2 separate regions of the Homo sapiens genome follow, and region 2 is linked to region 1. The links are contacts of gene promoters, found by promoter capture Hi-C in blood cells and fetal thymus (Javierre and others, 2016). All regions are on one chromosome and are shown on one strand. The core of a region is centred on a gene start or on the middle of the fragment in contact, and the rest is flanking DNA. Distances in the headings are between cores, read along the strand shown. Region 1 holds the start of RPL3 (ribosomal protein L3). Region 2 holds the start of RPS19BP1 (ribosomal protein S19 binding protein 1).

Evidence for each region. The method cuts DNA at HindIII sites, captures the fragments that hold promoters and counts their contacts. A CHiCAGO score of 5 or more calls a contact.
Region 2: the fragment with the promoter of RPS19BP1 here is called in contact with a fragment that was not itself captured in region 1 in 2 of 17 cell types (M1 macrophages and endothelial precursors); the score reaches 5.4 in M1 macrophages.

Annotation. Positions count from the first base shown.
Region 1 is chr22:39,315,703-39,323,614 of GRCh38, reverse strand. RPL3 (ribosomal protein L3) reads left to right here and starts at 3,992. Exons shown (of 10, transcript NM_000967.4): 1 at 3,992-4,020; 2 at 5,023-5,215; 3 at 5,986-6,154; 4 at 6,774-6,909. The coding sequence starts at 4,018. It overlaps SNORD139 (small nucleolar RNA, C/D box 139), which reads left to right and starts at 6,719; the gene lies at 6,719-6,773. SNORD43 (small nucleolar RNA, C/D box 43) reads left to right here and starts at 4,502; the gene lies at 4,502-4,563. RefSeq lists enhancers at 2,335-3,223, 5,987-6,076, 6,187-6,266, 5,894-6,782, 7,177-7,226 and 4 more. The HindIII fragment of the contact is 1,782 bases long and covers 5,565-7,346 here.
Region 2 is chr22:39,527,806-39,535,717 of GRCh38, reverse strand. It overlaps RPS19BP1 (ribosomal protein S19 binding protein 1), which reads left to right and starts at 2,970. Exons shown (of 4, transcript NM_194326.4): 1 at 2,970-3,031; 2 at 3,195-3,323; 3 at 5,801-5,898; 4 at 6,095-6,625. The coding sequence starts at 2,980. The coding sequence ends at 6,226. RefSeq lists silencers at 615-704, 765-814, 680-974, 3,046-3,205, 3,386-3,515 and enhancers at 2,776-2,825, 2,876-2,935, 2,725-3,240, 3,241-3,756, 6,006-6,255 and 4 more. The HindIII fragment of the contact is 8,920 bases long and covers 2,022-7,912 here.

The sequences.
Region 1 (7,912 bases), core at 5,206-7,705:
GATCCACCCACCTTGGCCTCCCAAATTGCTAGGATTACAGGCGTGAGCCACTGCGCCTGGCTTGTTTGTTTTTTGAGACAGGGTCTCACTTTGTCGCTCAGGCTGGAGTGCAGTGGTGGGATCACAGCTCATTGTACCCTCAACTTCCTGTTGGGCTCAAGGGATCACCCCACCTCAGCCTCCTGAGTAGCTGGGACCACAGGCATGCACCATCACACCTGGCTAATTTTTGTATTTTTTGTAGAGCCGGGGTTTCACCATGTTGCCCAGGCTGGTGTCGAACTCCTGAGCTCAAGCTATTCACCAGCCTCGGCCTTCCAAAGTGTTGAGATTACAGGCATGAGCCACTGTGCCTAGCCAACATAGGGTTTTATTAGGGGCGTAGAGGAGAGAGTCTAATGGTGGCGGGCTGGACCACATATCCTCCTTACATACACTCCAGTGGTGGTGTGCTGGATAGGAAAACTGCAGGTGGTTGCAGACAGCATGCAGTTTATACAGCATTTTCACTTAACACCTTCCCCTTAATGACCTCTCTCTGGTAGCCTTCATTTAACCCAAAACTTAGGACCTCAATCCCTGGTATAGTCTGTATTCCACAGGACTGGCTGGGGGCTCAGGTGTTCCTCATAGACAAGGAACCAGTCTTCGGGTTGGCCTTGCCCAGATTCCTTAGCTCGAACACACATGCAGGTGCATCTGCCATACAAGGTCATTCTAAGGGTATGCTTAAGTTATTGCTATTAGGTGCATTTACCCTACACCTAGTGAGCTATCTGTATGCTGGCAAGGCAGTTCAGGTCTACTGATGCTCTTTTCTTTCTTGACTGGAAAGGGAATTCTTGAGGGAGAATAGTTTGCCCAGGACCCTTAGTGGCACTTTTCTTTTGAACCTTCATTACAATTTTAAATTGTCTTATTTGGTCTGTGACAGTGGCCATCTTGTTCTCTATATTCCTGCAGCCTGGTGCAGGACCCGGCACAGAGCAGGCCTCCAGTAAGAATTTCTTCTTGCTCAGGATTCCAAAGCTCCTTTTCCGATAAGGGGATTATTGATCCCTGAGTCTAATGCCGTGAAAAACCAACCTGGAGTCAGATAGACTTGAGCTCTGTCCTTCACTAATTATGTGACTTTGTCAAGTTATTAACCTCTTGGCTGGAAGTTTAGTTTTCTATGTAAAAACGGGGCAATAGGCTGGGCGCGGTGGCTCACACCTGTAATCCCAGCACTTTGGGAGGCTGAGACGGGTGGATCACGAGGTCAGGAGATCAAGACCATCCTGAATAACACAGTGAAACCCTGTCTCTACTAAAAATACCAAAAATTAGCCGGGCCTGGTGGCGGGTGCCTGTAGTCCCAGATAGTTGGGAGGCTGAGGCAGGAGAATGGCATGAACCCGGGAGGCAGAGCTTGCAGTGAGCCGAGATAGTGCCACTGTGCGCCACTGCACTCCAGCCTGGGCGATAGAGCCAGACTCCGTATCGGAAAAAAAAAAGGGCGGGGGGCAATATGGGTAGGTTATAATCCTTTGTCTGCATCCTGAAATTTTTTTTTTTTTTTTTTTTTGAGATGGAGTTTTGCTTTTCTCACCCAGGCTGGAGTGCAATGGTGCAATCTTGGCTTACTGCAACCTCCATCTCCCAGGTTCAAGCAATTCTCTTGCCTCAGCCTCCCAAGTAGCTGCGATTACAGGCGCCCACCACCACCCCTGGCTAATTTTTGTATTTTTAGTAGAGACGGGGTTTCACCATGTTGGCCAGGCTGGTCTCGAACTCCTGATCTCAGGTGAACCACCCACCTTGGCCTCCCAAAGTGCTGGGATTACAGGCATGAGCCACCACGCCTGGTCTTGTTTTTTTTTTTTTTTTTTTTTTGAGACAGAATCCTGATTGGTCACCCAGGCTGGAGCACAATGGCACGATCTCGGCTCACTGCAACCTCTGCCTCCCGGATTCAAGCAATTCTCCTCCCTCGGCCTCCGGGGTAGCTGGGACTACAGGCGTGCACAACAACTGCTAATTTTTGTATTTTTAGGAGAAACGGGGTTTCACTGTGTTGGCCAGGCTGGTCTCAAGTTCCTGACCTCCAGTGATCCACCCTCCTCAGCCTCCCATAAGTGATGGGATTACAGGTGTGAGCCACCGTGCCTGGCCTGTATCCTGAAATTTTAAAAACCTTCTTAAATTATTTGGCAGCAAAAAGTAAACTGATGCATTTTTTGAGCAGCAAAGTCAGCCTTGAACTGATGTGAGTCTATTTATATTTGTCCCACTCCATGTGAATATTCATGTTTCCTTACGGAATATTGTTTTTCTTTAAAAAGTGCTGTATTACATAATATACAGTATGTGCACCATATTACCTTTCTAAAAATCAAAAAATGCTCAATTTTGAAACATATGTGGCCCCCAGGATTTCTAATAATGGATTGAAGATCTATCACTTATGTCCTTCGGGAATGGTGTGAGGATTGAGATAATTTTTTTTTTTTTGAGCTGGATTGCACTGGCGCAATCTCAGCTCACTGCAAACTCCGTCTCCCGGGTTCAAACGATTCTCCCGCCTCAGCCTCCCAAGTAGCTGGGATTACAGACGCACACCATCGTGCCCCGCTAATTTTTGTATTTTTAATAGAGACGGGGTTTCGCCATGTTGCCCAGGCTGGTTTCGAACTCCTGACCTCAGGTGATCCGCCCGCCTCGGTCTCCCAAAGTGTTGGGATTACAGGCGTGAGCCACCGCGCCTGGCCGAGAGAATGCTTTTCAAACGACGGTGGGAGCAAAGGCCAGGCCCAGAATTAAAGAAGATGACAGGGTGGGACAGAGGAAGCAGGTGATATGAGAGCGTGTGCTCTGGCGCAGCCATGAGGCTGAAGTAGACGGTTAGGGGAGCGTCTTTGGTGGCCGCTGAAGTTGATGCTTAATTCCGAGGAAACAACGAGGCGGCCATGGAAAGTAACGAGATACTTGATTCTTAGAAAGATTTGTAGGGGGCCAGGCGCGGTGGCTCACACCTGTAATCCCAGCACTTTGGGAGGCCGAGGCGGGCGGATCACGAGATCAGGAGTTCAAGACCAGCCTGGCCAACATGGTGAAACACCGTCTCCACTAAAAATACAAAAAAAAAAAAAAAAAAAATTAGCCAGGCATGGTGGCGCATTCCTGTAATCCCAGCTACTCGGGAGGCTGAGGCAGGAGAACTGCTTGAACTGGGAACCGGTAGGCGGAGCTTGCAGTGAGCTGAGATCGCGCCACTGCGACAGAGCGAGACTCCGTCTCAAAAAAGAGATTTGTAAGGGACCAGCCTGGAAGCAGGGAATCGGTCAGGATCCGAGTCACCCTGGAGCCTAGGCAGAGATCAGCGAAAGCCCTCGCTGATGCATAGGTCTGGAAGGCGTGGGGCTCCGGGAGGCTGAGCAGCTGGACTCGGCATGACCAGAGGTCGTGAGGCCGTTCCGCAGGCTTGGGACGCTCCTGACCCTCAGAATCAAGCGCGGGCCACTGCATTAGCATGGGAGAAATGGCAGAGATAGGGCTTGAGGGAGGGATGCCCGAGATTAAAGGTATTAAAGGTAAATTGGTGTCGCCGCAAAACCAGCGTGGGAGCCAGGAAACGAGAGTTTCAGTCTTTCTTCGCTAATTCCAGAGATAGCTGCATATCACAGGAGGAGAAGCGACGCAGCCATTTTTCTTCGTTATTATCAAATTTGGCTGCTGCCGGACGCCGTAGATTTGTGGCTCACCCACCCTTAGCCCACCTCTCCGCGGCTTTTCACTAAGTTTGAACCCGACCCCTCGCCGTAGAGTGTGTAATTTCTGTCTCCGAAGCTGACGTCAACTTCTGAACGAAAGCTAGGAGCGGAAGAGCGTGCGTGGAAATGGCGCTCGGTACGTGCCCCCGACCTGTCGTCTGCCGCGGGGGCGCGCTCGCACGCCGGAAGGGGCGGGGCCAGATTTGGCTTTATATAGCGGACCCGTAAGGCCGACCGGCCTCTACCGGCGGGATTTGATGGCGTGATGGTATGTGTTGTAATGGCGGCCGTTTCATTGTCACCGGCGTCGGCACGGCTGAATCCGCGACGCATCGCCGCCATCCCGTCTTGGCCGGCGCCGGGGGTTTGCTTTAGGGGCACGGGCGACCCAGCGGGGACTTCAGTCTGGCCTATTTTCTGGAAAGTCGAGAGGCTTGTGAAGAGCGCTTGGAGGACTGGCTTTGGGCCTGCAGGTCGGCCAGAGAGAGGCCGTAAGGGTGGGAGCAGGCTTGGAGGCCCGGCGTTTTTAAAGCCATGAGTCATTTCTAAGTTTCGACCTCACCAATTCTATCATTAGTTGGGATTAGGGCCCATAACCTGCTTGTCTGGGTAGAAGGACCTTGGGTGGAGGTTCTCGGCGCCGTTCTCATTGGGAGGTAAAGAAGCTTGGGGGAGGGGAGTGTTGTGGAGTCCTCCTGAATATCTGGGGCCGCTGGTGCACTCCGAAGGCCTCTGGAGCTCGCAGAAACCACAGATGATGAACTTATTGACGGGCGGACAGAAACTGTGTGCTGATTGTCACGTTCTGATTTGGCTCTGCGGAGTTCTTTGGCCTGTGTGTATCAGTGTAATTAGTGTCCGGGCACCGGAGGCAGCCTATAGCTTAACATTGCTAGCTGCTACCCAGCGTTTGTCCCGGGAGTCCCTTTCTTTAGCGGTCAAAACCTTGCTAATTGGCATATAAAGCTGCCTGTTAAGCAGTTTTTAGTGCCACTACTTAGTGTATTTTTGTGTGGTTAGATAAAAAAAATGGGTCGTTTTCTTACAGGTTGAGAGGATTTGAAATAAGATTCAGCTTAAATTTTGTCGAATACAAAAGCATTCTTGACACGTGCGAGCCTGGAAGAGATAATGACCTTTTTATTCGGCTTGCTGGGTGTCTGGTCAGGATTCTTCAGTATTGCTGAGATTTGGAACTTAAGCAGCTGGGAACTAGAGAAGGGGGCACTGCTTTGGTTTGGGTGCTGACGGTGATTTTTTTCCCACCTAGTCTCACAGAAAGTTCTCCGCTCCCAGACATGGGTCCCTCGGCTTCCTGCCTCGGAAGCGCAGCAGCAGGCATCGTGGGAAGGTGAAGAGCTTCCCTAAGGATGACCCGTCCAAGCCGGTCCACCTCACAGCCTTCCTGGGATACAAGGCTGGCATGACTCACATCGTGCGGGAAGTCGACAGGCCGGGATCCAGTATGTACAGACATCCTAAAAGTTGGGGGAATAGGAGTGGAGGGGGAGGGAAATTGTAGAGATGGAGTCAAGCTGTTAGCAGAGGGCAGACTTTTTTTTTTAAGCAGGAGTTACACGTTGTCAGAACTGCTGCGACAGCAGAATGGGAATGCTTAACTTGAAAACTAATATTCCAAGGCTACAGATGGTCAGCACTGTTTGCTTTAGGTGCGGTGTGGGGTATTGATTTCAGAGCATAGTAAATTTGCCAGGAACCTTAGCAAAGAGAAGTTAACACTAGTGTGGGGGGTTGGAGCTGCTGAGGCTGGCATAAGAACTGCCTCATTCATGTTTTTTTCACCTGAAAGCTTGAATAATGGCCACTTACCTGTGTGTGTTCTACTTAGAGATGTCTAACAGCACTGGTTGCTGAGCCATGGAGACATTAATGTTAGGCAGTTGATACTGACTAATCTCTGAGCTCAGAGCTATTGTTAGGGCACTGAATTTTCCAGATAAATAGCAATCTTGTCTGCCTCCAGAGGTTTCTGTAGAAGAGAATTGAAGCTGGACAGGTATTTGGCTGTCTAGGGTCCTGATATTTTTTGTTTGAATAACATAAATGTGCTTTGAATGAGAGATAGGCAGTAAGGACAGCCCTGTGAGTCCGTACTGCAGGTGTGGGGCCCAGTTGCCCTTCCGGCCTAAATGGGCACTTTGCATTTTCCTAGAAAACATTACACCCCTTGCTTGGGCTCCTGCCAAGTCTGACTACTGCTTTTTTTTTGCAGAGGTGAACAAGAAGGAGGTGGTGGAGGCTGTGACCATTGTAGAGACACCACCCATGGTGGTTGTGGGCATTGTGGGCTACGTGGAAACCCCTCGAGGCCTCCGGACCTTCAAGACTGTCTTTGCTGAGCACATCAGTGATGAATGCAAGAGGCGTTTCTATAAGAATTGGTAAGGGAGGAGGCCATGCAGTCCCTAGCTTGGGAGCTTGGGAGCTGGAGAGCAGGGAGCAGCGTGTGCATGGTTTCTCAGCTCTGTAGCAGGCAGGGAGCTGCTGTCTTGGGTTTAGTTTGCCTCTCGAACAGAAAAATACCTGGGATCAGACTTGGCCAGCCATCTGGTTTCAGCCGGAAGCTAACACCCTCATTCTGAGTCCAGGCTAGTGGGTGGTGGCTGAGGACCCAGTTGGTTGAGGAGTCCAACTAGAAACCAGGAGAGGTAGCAGAATAATTAAACCCCTATAGGGGTGGCAAGGGCCTCTGGCCCTGGGTGGAATGTCCCATTTCCTTCATCACTGAGTGGGCTTCCCCAGGGCAGAAAGGTTTGTCCCGGAGCAAGAATTTTGTTTGAATGCGTGTAACTTAAATTAACCTTGTGGACCTCTGCTCAGCTCCGCTCGGCTCTGCCCGATGAGCTCCATCCAGGCTCCGCTTGCTGGTGGAAAAGGCTCCTTAGAAGCCGGCAATGAGCTCCATCCCCACGCGGTGCCAGTGTGCCTTCCGCTCACCCCTCGGAGGGGTGATGAAGGCCTGCACCTGGTCCCCTCCCCAACTCTGCTCTGCTCCTGAAGGCATAAATCTAAGAAGAAGGCCTTTACCAAGTACTGCAAGAAATGGCAGGATGAGGATGGCAAGAAGCAGCTGGAGAAGGACTTCAGCAGCATGAAGAAGTACTGCCAAGTCATCCGTGTCATTGCCCACACCCAGGTGAGCCCAGTGCCCCGGGGTGGCTTGGCCTGCCACTTAGTAGAAGTGACCTATGTGATCATGGGGGTCCCGTGCCCGCACGCTTATGGGTAGGCTTCTCCCTTGCCAGCAGAGGGCACTGTGTCCTTACTGGCCCTTAGCAAGGGAACCATTCCCCTTTAAAATTCAACTGGTGACTCACCAGTAACACTGAAATGCCTGCCTGAAAGTCGGTTGTGAGGTACTGGCTGCTCTCCTGGAAACCTAGTTGATGAGCTGAGCAGGCTTTTTATTGACTTGGTTAGAGTGGGTGCCTCTTGCTGTCCTGTTACTGGTTATCCTGGCTGATCTCAAGTGCTGAGTGCAACCCCATGTGGTGAGGGCCACCACGGATGAGAGTGCATGTCCACCGTTGAAATTTTGTCAGGACATTGCCAGGCTGTCCTTGAGTGAAAGCTTTATGCTTAAATGCATTTTTTTTTTTTTAGAGACAGAATTTCGTTCTTGTTGCCCAGGCTAGAGTGCAATAGCCCTATCTCAGCTCACTGCAACCTCCACTTTCTAGGTTCAAGCTATTCTCCTGCCTCAGCCTCCTGAGTAGCTGGGATTACAGGCATGCGCCACCACGCCCTACTAATTTTGTATTTTTAGTAGAGACGGGGTTTCTCCATGTTGGTCAGGCTGGTTTTGAACTCCTGACCTCAGGTGATCCACCTGCCTCGGCCTCCCAAAGTGCTGGGATTACAGGTGTGAGCCACCGCTCCCGGTGATGCATTTTCTTACTTAGAGCTTGTGCTCTCTCAAAAGCAGGCTTGTCACTAGGGCAAGTGTAGGTGGCTGAGGTAAAACCACTGCAGTACCCCAAAAGGAACTGACCCAAAGGACAGCCACAGGAACATTGGGCTGGTAGGGGCTGGGATCTGGTTGTTTGCCTGTGGTGTGGGTCTTGTCCGCTCATCCTGACAGTAACTCAGGCACCAGTATCCAAAGTTAAGTTGTTGCTGTTGGCAAAAATGAAAGTTCC
Region 2 (7,912 bases), core at 1,721-4,220, 220 kb before region 1:
CAGGGGCAGGCAGGGACCCAGTGTGGAAACAGGCTCAGAGCAGTGAAGCCGCTCATCCAGGGTCATGCCAGGTGGGGAACTAGCCTGGGAGACCTCATGACCCGCCCTCCCACAGGGAGACAGGAAGCAGCTGCCCAACCCCCCTCCCCCTCCCCCAGCTTGACCCATCAGGGCCAACGTCAAGACTGGCAGGTCGCAGGTGCCCAAATGCGGGCTGTGGGGTGATCTGCTTGGGCCCAACAGTGGCTGCCCCTGCCCATCCCGTCTTGCCCAGAGGGAGCAGGTAGCATGGCAGCGCTGTAGCACCCTCTACACGCAGTCCCTGGGCGCAGACCCACCCAGGCCCGGCCCACACGGCACGGTATTGATCCACCGGTTCTCACACCTCTCCTAGAAGGGGGATGCTGCCCTGCCAAGCCCCATCCAACCAATGAGGAAACTGAGGCACTCTTTGTTAAGGGATTGCTGGGGTCACACAGCTCCCAGCTGTCATTTGCACACTTTTCAGGAAGGGACCTCGCCCCCCGCCCTGGGCAGCCCAGCCTGGTGGCTCTGCCTCAGCTTCCCCAGCCACTCCTCCAGGCCAGGGTGAGAGTGGGAGGGGGTGCGGGACAGCAGGAAGCCGGGGCCACACGGTGCTGGCTGCAAGGAGCCAGCCGAGGCAGAAGGACGTCCGGACCCCCACCCCCACCTAGCCCGGGTGGGCGCAGCTGAGGCCTTGGAGTCTCGCCGCGTGAGAAAGCTGTCCTGCGGCGCCACCTATTGGCAGAAATGCGCCCGGCCCCGCGGATGTGCTGATAACTCCGCGGGAGGCTGGGGCAGCGCCTGGCCTGCCGTCCCGCCCGTGCCCGGCTGGGCTGCGGACGCTGCAGGGGTCCACCTGGCACGTTGGCAGAAAACTCCTCCACCCGGGGGACCGTGGGCTGATTCAGCCTAGATCGGGAGGAGGACAGAGCTTGGTCCTTTGCCCTCCTGAGAGGCTGACTCGCTGCACATCCCACGACCTCCTGGGCCTCAACCCAGCGGCTCACTGGCGTCCCAAACTCAGCTCTCATCCACTCATTTCGTGCGTTTCTGAACTCTTACCGTATGCCAAGCACTGTTCCAGGCGCTAGGGATATAACAATGAACAAAACAAAGATCCCTGCCTTGCGGAGCTTACAGTGGGGTATGGGCGGGGAAACAGACAATACGCAATACACATAATAAGTAAGACAACAATCCGGCTATGTTAGAAGCAGGAAGGAGGCATATGTCTGAACAGTCACTGGGTTCCAGGCCCCACACTCCCCTTAGGACAAAATCATGGAGTCTGAGGCCTTTGCGACCCTCCAGCCCAGCATGGCATCCTGAAGGGCCACTCGTGTGTCACAGGGGATAGGTCCTCGCTACAGCGGTCTCCGCCTAGAACAATCCCCGCTGCCCATACATGGTCAGCTCCTCCTCACCCTCCAGGGGCCTACCTGACCCCATGGCTTGACAGGCCCCACCCAGCACCACAGCACTGCTCTCCCTGGTGGCTGGGACAGGAGCGCCCCCACAAATCCTGCGGCCAGGCTGCCAGTCTTAACTCCCACCCCTGACTCCACCCGTGTGACCTTCGCCTCTCTGTGTTTGTTTCCTCGTCTGTAAAATGCAAAAGACAATTCCTACCTGGAAGGGTAGGGGGGATAAACAAGTTAACAAATGTAAAGCACGTAGAACAGCACAAATGCTTGAGTTTGTGTTGGTTGTTATTATTACTCTCTAGCCGATGGAGCTTAAACGGTGTGGTCTATCCCGGAGGACGAACTCCAGGTCCCACACTCTGTGGTGTCAAGTACACAGAAGGCCCTCAGAACCCGGCTGAGTGAACCCAGTGGTCCCTTCTGATTCACCGTTCACTTATTGCGTGTCTTCTCCATGCCAGGTGCTGGGCTGCCAGCTGCAGATGGAGCAGCGAACAAGCCCAGGGCTCCTCCCCCAGGTAAGCAGTGTCACTTCTAGGCCAGAGGGGCTCAAATGTTTTGGTCTAAGAAGCTTCTTACATTTAAAACTTCAGAATCCCCTCACTCCTGTAATCCCAGCACTTTGGGAGGCTGAGGTGGGCGGATCACTTGAGGTCCGGAGTTCAAGACCAGCCTGGCCAACATGGCAAAACCCCGTCTCTACTAAAAATTTTTTAAAAAGAAAATTAGCCGGCCGTGGTGGCGGGCGTCTGTAATCTCAGTTACTCGGGAGGCTAAGGCAAAAGAATCGCTTGAACCCGGGAGGCGGAAGTTGCAGTGAGCCGAGATCGCTGCACTCCAGCCTGGGCGACAGAGCGAGATTCCGTCTCAAAAAAAAAATTAATTTAATTAAATAAAATAAATTTTAAAAAATTCAGGATCCCAAAGAACTTTTGTATGTAGGCAACTGATATTTGCCATACTAGAAACTAAAACAAAAATTTTACATATTCATTAATTCACTTAAAATGACAATAAACCCATTGCTTGGTAACATAAACAACGTATTTTATGAGAAATAATTGTAGTTTTCAAAACAAAGATATGTCTTTAATGTCTGGCTTAAGGGAAGACAACTGGATTCTCATGCTGCACTCAACCTGTGCGATACCTAGTGCTGGTTGAAGTATATGAAAAACACTCCGCCCTGTCCCCATCCTAGCCCGCCACGGAGCCACGAGACCCGAGAGGATTGGCCAACCCGGCGGAGCAGGTTGCGGACGGCTTCCGGGGAAGGAGGGGACTGAGCGCCAGGAGCCAGGTAGATTGGGATTGAGTAACACATGTGTCTTTCTGCGCCTTGGACCCGCCTCCAGTTTCCGCCCCTTCTTCCGCTCAAGTGTAAACCCCTAACGCATGCGTCCTAAGAAAGATGGGCACTTCCGCCCATCCCCCTCCGGATCCCTCTGTTCGGGCTCGGGTTTCCGCCGAGACGACAGGGACTGCCAGGTCGGAAGTAGTGTGAGGCTCGTGGGCGGAGCCAAGCGCCGCCATGTCCGCCGCCCTGCTGCGGCGGGGCCTGGAGCTGCTGGCGGCGTCCGAGGGTGAGGAGGGCTGGCCAGGGGACGTCCGGCGCGGGCAGGAGGATGGTAGTGGCTGCGGGCGGGAGCCCTGGATGGAAAACAATCCAGGCCGGGCTTAGCCCCAGTGGCATGGGAACGCTGCGCGCCCTCTGACCTGGGTCTCTTCCTCTCTCTTCCCCTACAGCCCCCCGGGACCCTCCAGGTCAGGCCAAGCCGAGAGGGGCTCCGGTGAAACGGCCCCGGAAGACGAAGGCAATTCAGGCCCAGAAACTGCGGAACTCGGCCAAGGGAAAGGTGCCCAAGTCGGCACTGGGTAAGTTCGGGAAGGGGCTGAAAGTGCTGCCTCCGGTGCTGGGACCTGCGCCCCAGAGGAGGTGGCGCTTGAGGCAGGGCTTGAAGCGTTCGCCCGGTATTGCTAGACCTACTGTGTGCCAGGCGCGGAGCGGGGCCCTGGACATACGAAGGTGACAGAACACGCCACCGTCCTGGTCCTCGTGGACTACGGCCCTAGTGGGGAGAGAAGCATCAAAGAATATCAAACCCAGTGTGTCATTGCTAAGTGCATTGAAGCCTATGAATTAAAAGACTACGGTACTCTGATGGGGACTTAGGCCAAGTCAGCCTTCTCTGAGGAAGCGACATTTCAGCCGAGAGCTGAAGGATGTATAAGAGTGAGCTAGGTGAAAAGTAGGAGAATATTCTAGGAAGAATAGTATGTGCAAAGGTCCTGAGTCAGAAAGGAGGTTGTTGCCTTTGAGAATTTGAAAAAATAAAGGCTGGTAAAGGTGACCTAGTGAATGAGGATCAAAGATGGAGCATTTAAACACATTCACTAACACTCTGTACCAGGTGCTGATTCTAAGTGCTGTACAAATGTAAGCTCGTTTGATCCTTACAGCAGCCCTTTGAGGTCGATACTACTATCACCCCCGTTTTACAGATTCAGAAAAAGGCACCTGCCCAGGTGGTACAGGCATTGTGGCTGCCCGGGCATTGTGTCTCCAGAGTGCTGCTATTACCTACTCCATTGAAATAGGACATGCTGTGGCCTGGGCAGTGGCTATAGCAGCAGAGATAACAAGAGAATTGTGCAGGTGGAAAATATGTTAAAGAGGGGGCAGCAGAGAATTTCAGCCTTTAGAGGGGTTTTAGTGGTGAATTGGCTGTGAAGGTGGAGCCTAGTTTCTTGGGGGACGTAGTGTCACTTAATAGACATAAAGACTTTCGGAGGGGCTGGTGTAGGCAAGATGGTGATATTTTGACATGTGTCAGGACGTGGCAAGCTCTTACTGTGTCTGAATCCCTAGAGTCTAATGCATAAAAGATGTTAAAGTATTTGTTAAAAGAATTATGAATTCCAAGGAGGAAATACAACTTAAGCCAAAGTCTGGAGGCAGGAAAGTGAGACAGGTTTGAGCCCCAGCGATACTTGCCATGAAGCAGGAGTGTGGAGTGCCAGAGGTCATTCCCATCTGTCCCAGCCCTTGTCTCACTGTCGTGTCCTGGGTGCTCACCCACCTCCCCTGTTGGATGGAAGCTCCTAAAGGCACACACCTCCTTGGGCTTGTCCGCAGCCTTGGTGTCCACCACAGGTTTTGGCACATAGATGCTGAGTGAGAGGAATGGCAAGCCTCGCAGCCAATGGAAAGAACACCTCTGCAGCTGCCACTTTGCTCCAAGCTGCATCGTCTCTTGCCTGAATTATTGCAGAAGCCTAGCCGGTCTCCTGCCTTCCACATGCCCCTCCCCCCGTAATCTTGTTCTCAACAGCAACCAAAGTGATCGTGTAAAATCAGAAGTCATTCCTTGTTTTTCCTCTGGGTGGCTCTCATTGTAGTCACTAAAAGGTGGCGGTCTTAGGGTGCCTGACAAGGGCTATATGACCTACCCCCACCCCCAGCCAAACTTGGTCTCTTCCTGCTACCCACTCCCCCTACTCCAGCTGTTTTTGTTGTTGTTTTTGGTTTGTTTTTTTTTTTTTTGAGATGGAGTCTTGCTTTGTCACCCAGGCTGGAGTACAGTGGTGCAGTCTCATCTCACTCCAACCTCTAGCCTCCCGAGTTCAAACGATGCTCCTGCCTCAGCCTCCCGAGTAGCTGGGATTACAGGTGCCCACCACCACACCCAGCTAATTTTCGTTATTTTTAATACAGACGGGGTTTCACCATGTTGGCCACGCTGATCTCGAACTCCTGACCTCAGGTGACCTGCCTGCCTCGGCCTCCCAAAGTGCTGAGATTACAGGTGTGAGCCACCGCACCCAGCCATTCCAGCTGTTTTGTGTTTTTCAAACACATTTGACACATTTCTGCTTCAGGGCCTTTGCACTGGGTGTTCCCTCTACCTAGACAAATGCTCTTTCCCCGGATATCCACAGCTCTCTTCGAGTCATTTCAGTGAGACCTTCTCATTCCCTCCTATTTGAAATTGCACCCTCCACCCCTGGAATTCCCCTTTTCTGTTTCCTCTTTTGTTTTTCTCCATGAAATGTTTGCGCTTCTAAAATACTGGGTCCTTTGTCCTTCATCTCTCACTGAAGCGAAAGCTCCAGAGTAGCTCCCTTGGTGAGTAGTATTCAGGACATAATTGTTGGAAAATGGGGGTGGGGGCCAAGAGCCTGGGGCTTTCAGCAGGACCTGTGTGGAGAATGCATTTGATGGAGAAGAGCCCAGCCGCTGTAATAACCTGGGAAGGGAACGATGAGGTCTTTGGCAGGGCCATGGGCCAGGGACTGAGAATGGTTCCAGGGGGAGTGAATCTGAAATGGTGCTCCCTGCCTGCTACCCACAGACGAGTACCGGAAGCGAGAGTGTCGAGACCACCTCAGAGTAAACCTGAAGTTTCTGACCAGGACGAGAAGCACCGTGGCTGAGTCTGTGAGCCAGCAGGTTGGTCGAGGGTACTATAGGAAGGGACCTGGGAGGTGAGAGCCGAGGCTGTTCCCCTAGGGACCCATGGCGGTCTCAGCCCTGAGCATAGGGTGGGAGGCTGGGCCAGCCCTGCCCTGCGCCGAACTCCCCTGTGACCTTTGCGGGCCTCCTCTGCTCTTGAAATGATGGGCCCTCGGTCCCGCACCCTCGCCAGATTTTGCGCCAGAACCGGGGCCGCAAGGCCTGTGACCGGCCTGTGGCCAAGACCAAGAAGAAGAAGGCTGAGGGCACCGTGTTCACCGAGGAAGACTTCCAGAAGTTCCAGCAGGAATACTTCGGCAGCTAGGCTCCCTGGAGGGCACGGTGAAGAGGCCTTCAAGCCCTGCAGCCTCCGACTCCTGCTGGCTCCAGGAACCGGCCGTGCCGCGCGGCCAGCAGATGGCGATGCAGGACCAGCCTGGCTCGAGGAAGCCGCGGAGCTGAGCCGAGTGGAGGCTGGAATGGAGCTGGTGGGCCGGAAGTCCTGGGGAGGATTTACACACAGACCGGAGCTGGCTTCCGCAGGCCTGGGCAGAGCATCTGCACCTGCCGGAAAGGAACGTATCTGTTTTGTTTGCTTTTGCCCAGGTGGGGCCTCTGGGCTGTTTGCTGTGGAGCAAGGCTAATTCCTGAGCCCTTGGGGACGACAGCTCCAGGAGTAGGAAGAAGGGTGGGCTTCCAAGTTACAATAAATGTGAACCCAAGAGCTGTGTTTGCTGCTGGTCTGCCCCACAGGGTGTCTCCCATCTCCTGTGGCACCAAAGCGCCACGCTGCCTTCCCCATCTCCCAGCGTGCTTCTGAGCTCCGGGTCACAAGTCCTCCAGTCCAGCCCCGGCAGGCAGCCATCAGAACACCCACCTCTGCTGCCAGGGGCGCCTCCCTCCTCTGGGGATGGCCACCACAGCTGAAAAGGTGACTCTTGAGGCAAAAATAGCTGCTGGGAGCAGTTCCAGTGCAGGTGGCTGGGTCCGGCAGTGGGAGTGTTGCTACTTCCGCCTGCGCCCGGGGAGCGTGGAGTCCGCCATGAGCGGAGCATTTCACCCGGTGTGTTCCTTTTCTGGCTCATGCTCTGGTGAGCAGCCAGGTGGGGTCAAATGCCTGTCATAGTGGGGAGGGGACAGTAGAGAGGACTCAGGAGGTAACCTGAAGAAACGGTTTCACACTCAGGTGTGCCTGAGCTGAAGGATGGAGGCGAGGGGAGGCAGGCGGGACCCTTCCAGCAGGCATGGGGTGGGATCAGGAGGTGAAGGACAGGCAGGCACTGAATGACTGTGTGAGTGAAGACAGGAGGCGGAAGCGGAGGCAGGGCCAGCGGAGGAGAGGTGAGAAGTGAGAGCCCAGGAGTCTTTCATCAGGGGGCCTGAGGGGAAGGGACCTGGGAAGCCTTCAGGCAGCTGCTTTTGTCTCCTAAACTCTCTCCTCCCCACCATAGCCTAAGGGCTCCTTTGCTGTGGTGACTCCCATTGCTGCTGGTCGAGAGCCTGGCAGTCCCCTGAGGCTGGGTTTGATGGGAGTGACATCTGGCTCCCTGGGTTCCCTGACGACATTGCCTTCGGGCCTGTTATTTGTAACAGCACTTGCTCCCCCACTGCCCTGGGTGGTCTGTTCCTGGTCTTTAACCGTGTTCCATCCTAAATGAGGACATGAGGGGGCCACACATCTTCCGGGGGCAGAGCTGGAGTCAGGTCCTGTCTCCAGGCGACCTCCATCAGCAGGGGGATGGGGAGGGAGTGTGCTGTGACCCCAAACCTTAGAGACCAGGGCCTCTTCCTGCCTGCTGGGCTGTAATGACCCCACTGGGCAGAGAAACTTGGATATCCGTGGAGACTAGTGGCCTTAATATTTTAAGCGGCTTAACAAAAAGCCAACTCAGCCTCTAGCGCCTGGAAGAACAGGCTGACCATAGGCCCAGGGCCCCTTTCTAACAAGAACACGCCCACTGTTACATAATCGCCCAGGTGTTCTTCCTGCTCCCTCCCTGTGTAGAGTGCA